Regions from separate parts of the Homo sapiens genome. Here region 1 is linked to region 2. Evidence: promoter capture Hi-C in 16 types of primary human blood cells and fetal thymus (Javierre and others, 2016). All regions are on one chromosome and are shown on one strand. The core of a region is centred on a gene start or on the middle of the fragment in contact, and the rest is flanking DNA. Distances in the headings are between cores, read along the strand shown.

Region 1 (4,169 bases), core at 1,491-3,990, 500 kb before region 2:
AGAGAAGAGAAGATCTTGGGCCTTATATGCCAACCAGAAGGAAATGCCACTTTCACTTGGAGTGCAGTGGATGCTACTGCAGGGTTTTGAGAAAAGTGACCTGCTCTGACTTACATTCTAAAAGGTCACTCTGGTAGCTGCATTAAAATTAGAGTGTAGGAGGACAAGGACAGAAGCAAAGAGACCAGATAGGAAACTTGCAGTAATCCAGGTGAGAGATGATGCAGGCTGAGTGGGACCAGGGTAGCAAAGATGGAATGTGGTAAGAAACAGTCAGATTCTGGATCCACCCTGAAGATAGAACCGATGGAATTTGGTAACAAAATGTATGTATGGTGTGAGAAAAGGGATTCGACGGTGAGACTGAAGTATTGACCAGGTAATGAAAAGGATGGTGTGAACATCCGCTGAGAAGCCCAAGACCCACAAGAGAAGTATGTTTGGAACATGGGAAGGGCAGAGAACAGAAGTTGGTTTTGAACATGGAGATGTTGAGTAGGCAGCTGGATGTTAAGTGGAGAGTTTGAGAGTCAGACCTGGCTGGAGACATAAATTTGGGAGTCGTCAACATGTAGATGGTATTTAAAGCCACGAGACCAGATGAGATCACCGAGGGAGTGAATATAGACAGAGGAGAGAAGAAGGCCAAGGACCGAAGCCTGAGGTGCTCCACCATGTAGAGACTGGGGAGACAGGAAGAAACCACCTCCAGACACGGATGAGAATCAACCAGTGAGTGATGAGGAAAACCAGGAGAGCATAGTGTCCCAGAAGCCAAGGAAAGAAACAGGGAGTAGTCCACTTGTTAAATGCTGCTGATAACTCCAGTAAGATGAACCTGAAGAGACGGCCCTTGGATTCAGTACCGTGGAGGTCACTGTTGCCCTAAACAGGGGCATGGTTGGTACAGCAATGGGAGAGAAAGCCTTCATAGTGTGGGCTCCAGGGAGGACGGGAGGACAGGAATTGCAGGCAGTGAGCTTAGCCAACTTTTTAGGGAAGGATTGCAGTTGTACAGAGCAGAAAATGGGCCAGGAGCTGAAGGAGAACATGAGAGTGGGGAGAAATTTTTGTTGGTTGGTTTTCAAATTTTAACGAGAGATGGGAGAAACTGTAGTATATTTGCATGCTAATGGGGCTGCTCCTTGGAGAAGAAGGAAAACATGTTGCAGGAAAGAGAACAGAGAACTGCTGGCTGGAGCAATGCCCTCCAGAAGGCAAGAGAGGACAGGATACCAGCACCAGTGGAGGCATCTATCTTAGCTGCAGGTGCAGACTGTTCATCTAGAGAAATGGGAGAGGAGACAGAGGATGTGGGCACGCAGGTAGGTGGCAAGACCGACCTTTCTAATTTTTGCTATTCTGATGGATGAAAGCGATGTGTTATTGCTGCCTGGGATGCATGATGACTGGAGCCACATCCTGAATAACACGGATCCAGCTCTAAAGAAGAATCCATGTTTCTCAACTCTCTGTGCCTCTTTCTCACCAAGAGTCTGCTTCTCACTGGGCATCTCTCTCTTTCTATCTCTGTGCCTCTGTCCTCTGAATTTTCTTTCTGTCCTCTCCCACCTGCCCCATCTTTCTGTCTCTGTGTATTTAGCCCTTTGTATCTCTCAGTCTTCCCCTCCCTTCATGTTTGCGTTGGGGCCCCTCCTCTGGGCCTGGGTGTGGGGCCTACTTTCTCATCCCAGCTAGCACTTCCAACCAGAAGTTCCAGTTCCTGCTTGACAAAGAATCCCATTTTGAAGCCAAGATAGGGAGGGGCCTCCTGGAACCGTCAGATGCCTCCATCTTAAGCTTTACTTATTTAACAGGAGCATTGTGGCCCTTGGTCCATGCCACACTCTCTTCGAAGCATTTTTGGGTATTAATCCAGTTAACCCTTCTCCATAAGGCAAGTGCTATTGATTGTGCCATTTTACAAATGGGGATGCTGAGGCACAGAGCAGTCACATCATCTGAACTCAGGCAGTCTAGCTCCAGAGTCTGAGGTCAGAACCACTAGGAACACCATCTCTTTTTCGGGTCCTTTCTTCTTCTTTCTCCAGCCCGGTTCTCTGTGGTGGAGGAAAGACCTGCACCTGTGACAGAAGCGCACTTGGATTTGGTCCAGTTTGTGTGTGACTTTCAGCCGTGGGCTTGTTCATCAAGTGAGGGGGTGGAAGGTGCCCAGCCCTCAGTGGGTCCATGACCTCACTTCAACCAGAGCTACCCAACCCGCGTTCGGCCAATCATAACCCCTAACATCAATTTGACCTGGCACTCACCCCTCAGCAAATAACAAGGCCAACCACCCTCACTCCAGGCTCCAGCTTTTCCCAAGTGAGAAAGGCTTCTCTGGAAGCATGGACCCAGGTCACAGGAGGGTACAAGTACCCCGATTTCCCACATAAGCTGGTTGCCGCACTTAACCTGGCATCCTACCTCCAGCCACACCACCTGAACACAATTCCACTCAAAAAGTGAACTCAGACCCCGCCCTGTGAGGTGGGAGAAGTCCAGGGTGGAGAAAGACAGTGACCTTTCTTTCACCTTGAGAGGTGGGGTATGACCCAGCTCACCCCCACCAAAACCTACTGCATCATAGACACTCAACCTCATGGCCAGTCCTCATCACCCATGTCAACCCACTACCCCAGCTCAACCACATCTTAACATTTCCCCATCCAAAACCTCAATCTTGGTTCCATCTTCAGCCCCAACCCAACAGTACCCCAACACCAACTTATCCCTAGATACCTCCCATCTTACAATCTAATCCTATCCCAAAACCAGCTCAACTACCACCTCCAACTCTATACCCATCCTCATCCAATTTTCATTCACCTCCCCAAACTCATTGCATTCCTAATGTTGTCATCAGGCCCATCCTTAACCATAGACTCTACTGATTTCCTATATTAAGCCATATTTTTCTTCTTAGCAAAATACTTTGAAATGGACCCAACATTGGACACTGAGGTGTCGCCAATGCAAAGTTAGATGGGTTATCTGATTTTATGAGGTCTCTGTACCCTTTCCTGTCTTTGAGCCACTTTATGACTCTAAATTGTAGGTATCTGAGAGCAATGCAAATAATTCTTGTCCATAAATGTTTACATGAATTTTGCCAGGTGGAAGTACAATGGATTTCCCTCCTCCTCCCAGTGTGGAATAGCCAGTTTTGCATCTATTTGTAAATTCATTTCAGCATTCCTCGTTGTCTCTGTGCATATGGCTCTTTGTAACATCTTACTGGCTCTGCCATTTATTAATGAGTCAAGATACAATCTTTGACACATGTTCATTTCATATATGTCAGAGAGTCATGGTAAGACCATGTTTTAAAAGTTACCCTTTGACACTAGATTTGATCTCCACATCCAAATCTGAACTCCATCAATAAGGACTGTACAAGTTTCCATGTGAGCCCTCGCCCCATCCATCTCTATTCTTTATCCTCATTGTGACACCTCCACTCTCTCACTCTTTCCAAACTTCATCTGGTCCACGTCCCTGGCTTTCTTCCAAATTCTGACCCCACCTCAGTCCTTAATCCCTAATCCTGTCCCCTCCACCCCCTAGGATTAACTCAGGGCTCCACCCAGTCATAGTTCCTGGAGACACCTACTCATTCTCAAAACACCACCCCTTCCTCCTTCCTCTCCCCCACCCCCAATCCACGTCTTCAAAGCTTTCCGGCTCCTGCTTTTTCCTCTCCACCTAGGTCCCCGTGGACTCCCTCACCCCCTCTGGCCCTGCTCCTAAAAGGCCATTTCTGGAAAATGTTGCTTTCTCAGGTCGCATCTCTGCCCCCATCCAAGTCCGAGGGAGCTGATTTTCTATCCACCCAGCTGATGATTTCCTTCTTGTGTCCGGTGGTTGGCGGGAGCAGGGAGGCAGGATGATGGGATAATTGTGGGTGTCCTTGTGTCTTTCAAAAGAAAAAGGGTTGAGATGAGACTGGGAATTGGAACCTGGATGTGTTGAGAGCTAAACCTGAGATGAGGTTGGAGATGGGACTGGGGTTGAGGAACAGGCTGGAGTACTTGGTATGGTTAGGGATGGATAGGGAGGTGGGAATCTGATAGAACACGGCCATCTGGGGGCTGACTGCCTATTAAGAATTATGCATGGGGTTGGAGAAGAGGTTAGAAAACTGGGTGCAGAATGGGTTGAAGTTAGGG
Region 2 (4,105 bases), core at 895-3,394:
GTCTCGAACTCCCGACCTCAAGTGATCCTCCCGCCTCGGCCTCACAAAGTGCTGGGATTACAGGTGCGAGCCACCATGCCCGGCCGAGACCCTCTTGTAATGAAAGGGTTAACTCAGGGCTCATCAGGGGCCTGCTCTCACCTGTGCCCACCAGGTACCACCATCCCTAGGAGTTGGTACCGCATGGTTGCAGGATTGATGCCACGCTTGTGAGGTGCTGGGCACAGCATCTGGCCTGTGGGAGACCAGGAGGAACCGCGGGCTGCCACCATGTGATTCTGTTTTGCTGGTATCACCATCGGTCCTGGCCTACTCTGTGCTGGACCCTGGTGCACACACACATTCACTGGTCCAGTCTCACGAACTAGACTTGAGCGGCGCCAGGGGCGGGTGAAACCCGAAGCACCACAGCCACCTGCCACTCCCTGGCCCTCGCCCAGCCCCTTCTCAGTTTCCCCTCTCGGCAGCTCTCAGGGCTCAGCACCCACCAGCGCCCACCCAAAACCGCCTCTTCCGAACCCATCTGTGACCTGGCTTCTCTCGGGAACCCTGGCTCATTATAGATGTGTCTGGCCCACTTTCCTTCCAGCTTCCAACCCTGACTCTCCCCAGGCTCTGCCTGCAGGGGTACAGCCACACTTTCCCTCCCTGGGGCTCTCCGAGGAGAAGGGGAAGAGGGAGAGTCTGTCCCGGGTCCCCTGGCACTGAAAGAAGGAACCTTCATCTTTCTTCTCTCTCTCCTGAGTCCTCAGTTATTAGTCAGCGTTTTGGGGGATAACAAGGCAGGGGTGAAACTTCTGTGCTAATTTTAACATCTGGAAGGATCTTCAGTGTCCTGGACAGGGGCCACCCCTCCTTCTGGGTTTCTCCGCCCCTGATTCCCGATGTCCCCCTTCCTTGGGGCCCAAGCTTTTGGGGTAGTGGACCGGGGAGGTAGAGGGGAGGGTCACGGTGACCTCCCAGAGGCCTCTGCATCTGCCCTCCCCCTCCCTGCACCCAAGATGCAGCTCAGCTTCACAGCTCTAAATGCGTCCCCAGCACCCGCTGCCAACACCTGGGGGAGGTGAGAGGAGAGTGAGTAGGGAGGCTGCAGGCTGTGCCCTCTGCCCCTCCCAGGTGCCTCCACCTGCCAAGTCTGGACCAGGGACGAAAGCTAGGAACTGACCCATTCTCCATCTCCCTCAGGGTACCCCCAGCCCAAGACTGCATTCAAACCCCATCCTGGCTCCTCCAAGAGCTCAGTGGTCTCTTCTGGAAAATGGGTTTGAAGGTTCTTCTCTTCATGAGGTGGAGGGGCGGACGAAGCGGGCATACAGCGGAGTTCAAGAAAGGCCCTCTGTCCCCTCCCCCACTCTGTCTACTCCCCGGGCTCTTGCCACCCAGTCTTGGGCCCTCAAAGCTCCAGCTCCCCAGCTTCTCTCCTCTCCCCCGAGATCTTTCTCCTCCCCCCTCCCCCCGACGGGTCCTTCCCTCCCTCTTCCATCCTCTCATCTCTGTCCCACTTAGATCCTCCTGCCTCTTCCGGGTCCTGCCAGCTTCCCCTGCTCTTCCTGACAACGCACACCGCACCCCCCATTCTTCTCCCCACAGCCCCCGCCGCCCTCCAGGCCCCTCTGTCCCCTGCAGCCCTCAAAGTTAGGCCTTCCCTACCTCCTCTTTCCCCTCACTTCCCTGCCCCTGGGCCTCTCCTGCCCATCTCTCTACCCATCTCCCCCTCCACTCCTCCTCTCCCTCCTTTCCTCTTCCTCTACCCACTCCCCCTGCCCCCCGCCCTCCCCTCCCCTTCATCCAGGACCTTATTGCAGGAGTTACCCCCTCCTCTCCCCTCCCCTCCCACACCCTCTCCCCTTTCCCTCCTCTCTCCCCTGCTCCTCCCCTTTTTCTCCCCCTCTTCTTTCTTCCACCCCCTTCCCACTTCCTTCCTTCTTTCCTCCCCTTCCCTCTTCTTTCCTCCCCCCCTTCCCCTTCCCTCCCGTCTCCCTCTCCTTTCTTCCCTCCCTCTCCCATCCTCTCCGGTTCTTCCCCCCTCTTTCCTTCCTCCCTCTCCACGCTGCCCTCCCTCCCCTCCCTCTCTCCCCCCTTCCTCTCCTCCCGGGCCTCCCTCCCTGCTCCCTCCCTCCGCCCGCCCGCTCCCACCATCATCAGTATTCCGCTCCCGTCTCCGCCGCTCTCGGCTGCTCTCGGTCGCTGCCGCACCGTCCGAGGCGGGGGCCGGGGCCGGGGCCGGGGCCTGGGGGGGGGTGGGGTGGGGGGAGAGCGGCGCCGGCGGGCCCGAGGAGGGAGGAAGGAAGGAAGGAAGGCTGGAAGGAAGGAAGCCAGGAAAGAAAGAAGGAAAGAAAGGAAGGCAAGAAGGAAGGCGGGCGGCGGGCGAGGGCGCGGGGCCGGACGGCAGGCGGGCGCGAGGCGAGGAGGCAGAGCGGCCCCCCCAGCCCCACCGCCGCCGCTGCGGAAGCCCCCTCCCCACCCAGGAGCCGGGGAGGGGGGAGAGCGCGAGAGGCTCCAGGCCCGGCCGCAGCCCCGCCCCCCGCGCCTCCCCGCAGCGGGCCTTGCACCCCAAATTCCTGAGCCTCATTGGGGGGGTCCTCCCCCCACGGGCCGGGCATGCTGCCCCCCGGAAGGAACCCCTCTCCTCGCTGTGAGTAGCCGCCAAGGGGCACGGGTCGGGGGCGGGGGCCGGAGGCGGAACCGCGGGGGGTGGGTGGGGGGCATTCGCTAATTGGGGGACAGTGGTCTTAGGCCTCCTCCGGGATGGGGGGGGATGGCAGAGGACAGGGGGCGGGGCCTAATGGGAGGCAGAAGCCGGTGGGGGAGGCGACTGGGTGGGGGTTCTCCGGGCAGGGCGAGTTCTGTGCTGTGGGGGGGGTGGTTGTCGCCGCTGCCTGGGGACAGGTTGTGGGGGGTGCGTCCGGCGGTCGCTGCGTATCCAGCTGTGGGGCTGAGGAAGTAGGCTTAGGGTGGGGGGCTCTCCGGGCGTAGGTCCGGGCCCCCCTTTCTGGGGCGGGAGTCCAGGTTCTTCCTCTCCCCATGGCCCCTCCCACCCTCCACACCGCTGCTGCTTGGGGTGGGGGGGGCACGCCAGTGATGGGGAGGGGGGAGAGGCGGGCACGGGGTTTCCTTGGTGACCGCGCCTGGCAAGAGCGGTTGCCGTGGCAACCGGGGAGAACCGGGGAGTTTGGGAAGTGAAAATGGGAAAGACGGAGGGGGTGATTGGGGAGTGAGACAACCCCCTCCCCAGTCTTCAGCCCTTCTCCCTCTGGGGTCACCCCGCCTCTCCTGGTGGGCGGCTCGGACCCCTGCCCCTCCGTCTCTCCAAGACCCCCGTTCCCTGACCCCACTAGGCTTTGGGGCCTTCTATCCTTGGGCACGTGTCTCTCCAGGACCACTGCCTCTCCCACCTCCCTCCGCCCTCCCCTCCTGGAAACCTCTCCTCCTGGAGACCCCCGCCCCCCATTTGCTGCCTCCTCCCCAGGCTTCCGACCCTCACACCTGCTCTTCTAGGACCTTCTAAGACACGGCATCTGCTCCTCAGCCTTCTCTAACCCCCATCTCTGACAATCCCCCAGATATCCCTCTCCAGACCTTCTGTCCAGGAGACCCTCACTTCAGCCGCCCTCTCCTCTAGCTCCCTCCTCCCACTCCCTCCCCGCCCCTCTTTGGGCCTTGCACCCCAGCCTCTCCCCTTTCTCCCCAACACCCCCAGTCGCCTTCTCCTTAGCCCATCACTCTCTGAAACATCCTTCTATGACCTTTCATCACCCAGAGACCCCCTCCATCGTTGTCTCCTCACCCCATAGTACTCCCCAGTCTCAGACCCCCCCAATCCTAGCTCTCTCCTTTTGGGAGCCTCTCCTTCCAACTCACCATCAATCCCGGGCTCTCAGGGTTCCCCCCATCTCTATGCCCCTGCCTCCCTGGGGTCCTGTCCTGCCAGGGGCCCAGCCAGTCTCTCTCCAGGACTCGAGTCTCCAGAGCCCAGGATGGCCTCTTGCCCACCCCTCCACCCCTTCGCCTCCTCTCTGCACCCCCATCTCCTTCCCCAGACCTCCTCACCTCTGCTCTCCTCCTAGGCGCCCTCCCCTCCTCCCTGCCCCCTCCCCGCAGCCTC

Evidence for each region. Contacts are between HindIII fragments. The CHiCAGO score rates a contact against its expected background, and 5 or more counts as called.
Region 1: a fragment that was not itself captured here is called in contact with the fragment with the promoter of LRRC4B in region 2 in 1 of 17 cell types (M2 macrophages); the score reaches 5.3 in M2 macrophages.

What each region holds. Positions count from the first base shown.
Region 1 is chr19:51,065,982-51,070,150 of GRCh38, reverse strand. No RefSeq gene overlaps it. Among named protein-coding and RNA genes, the nearest start is that of KLK13, 3.0 kb to the right of the region's middle. The HindIII fragment of the contact is 1,876 bases long and covers 1,803-3,678 here.
Region 2 is chr19:50,566,474-50,570,578 of GRCh38, reverse strand. It overlaps LRRC4B (leucine rich repeat containing 4B), which reads left to right and starts at 2,144. Exons shown (of 3, transcript NM_001080457.2): 1 at 2,144-2,635. The HindIII fragment of the contact is 11,248 bases long and covers 912-4,105 here.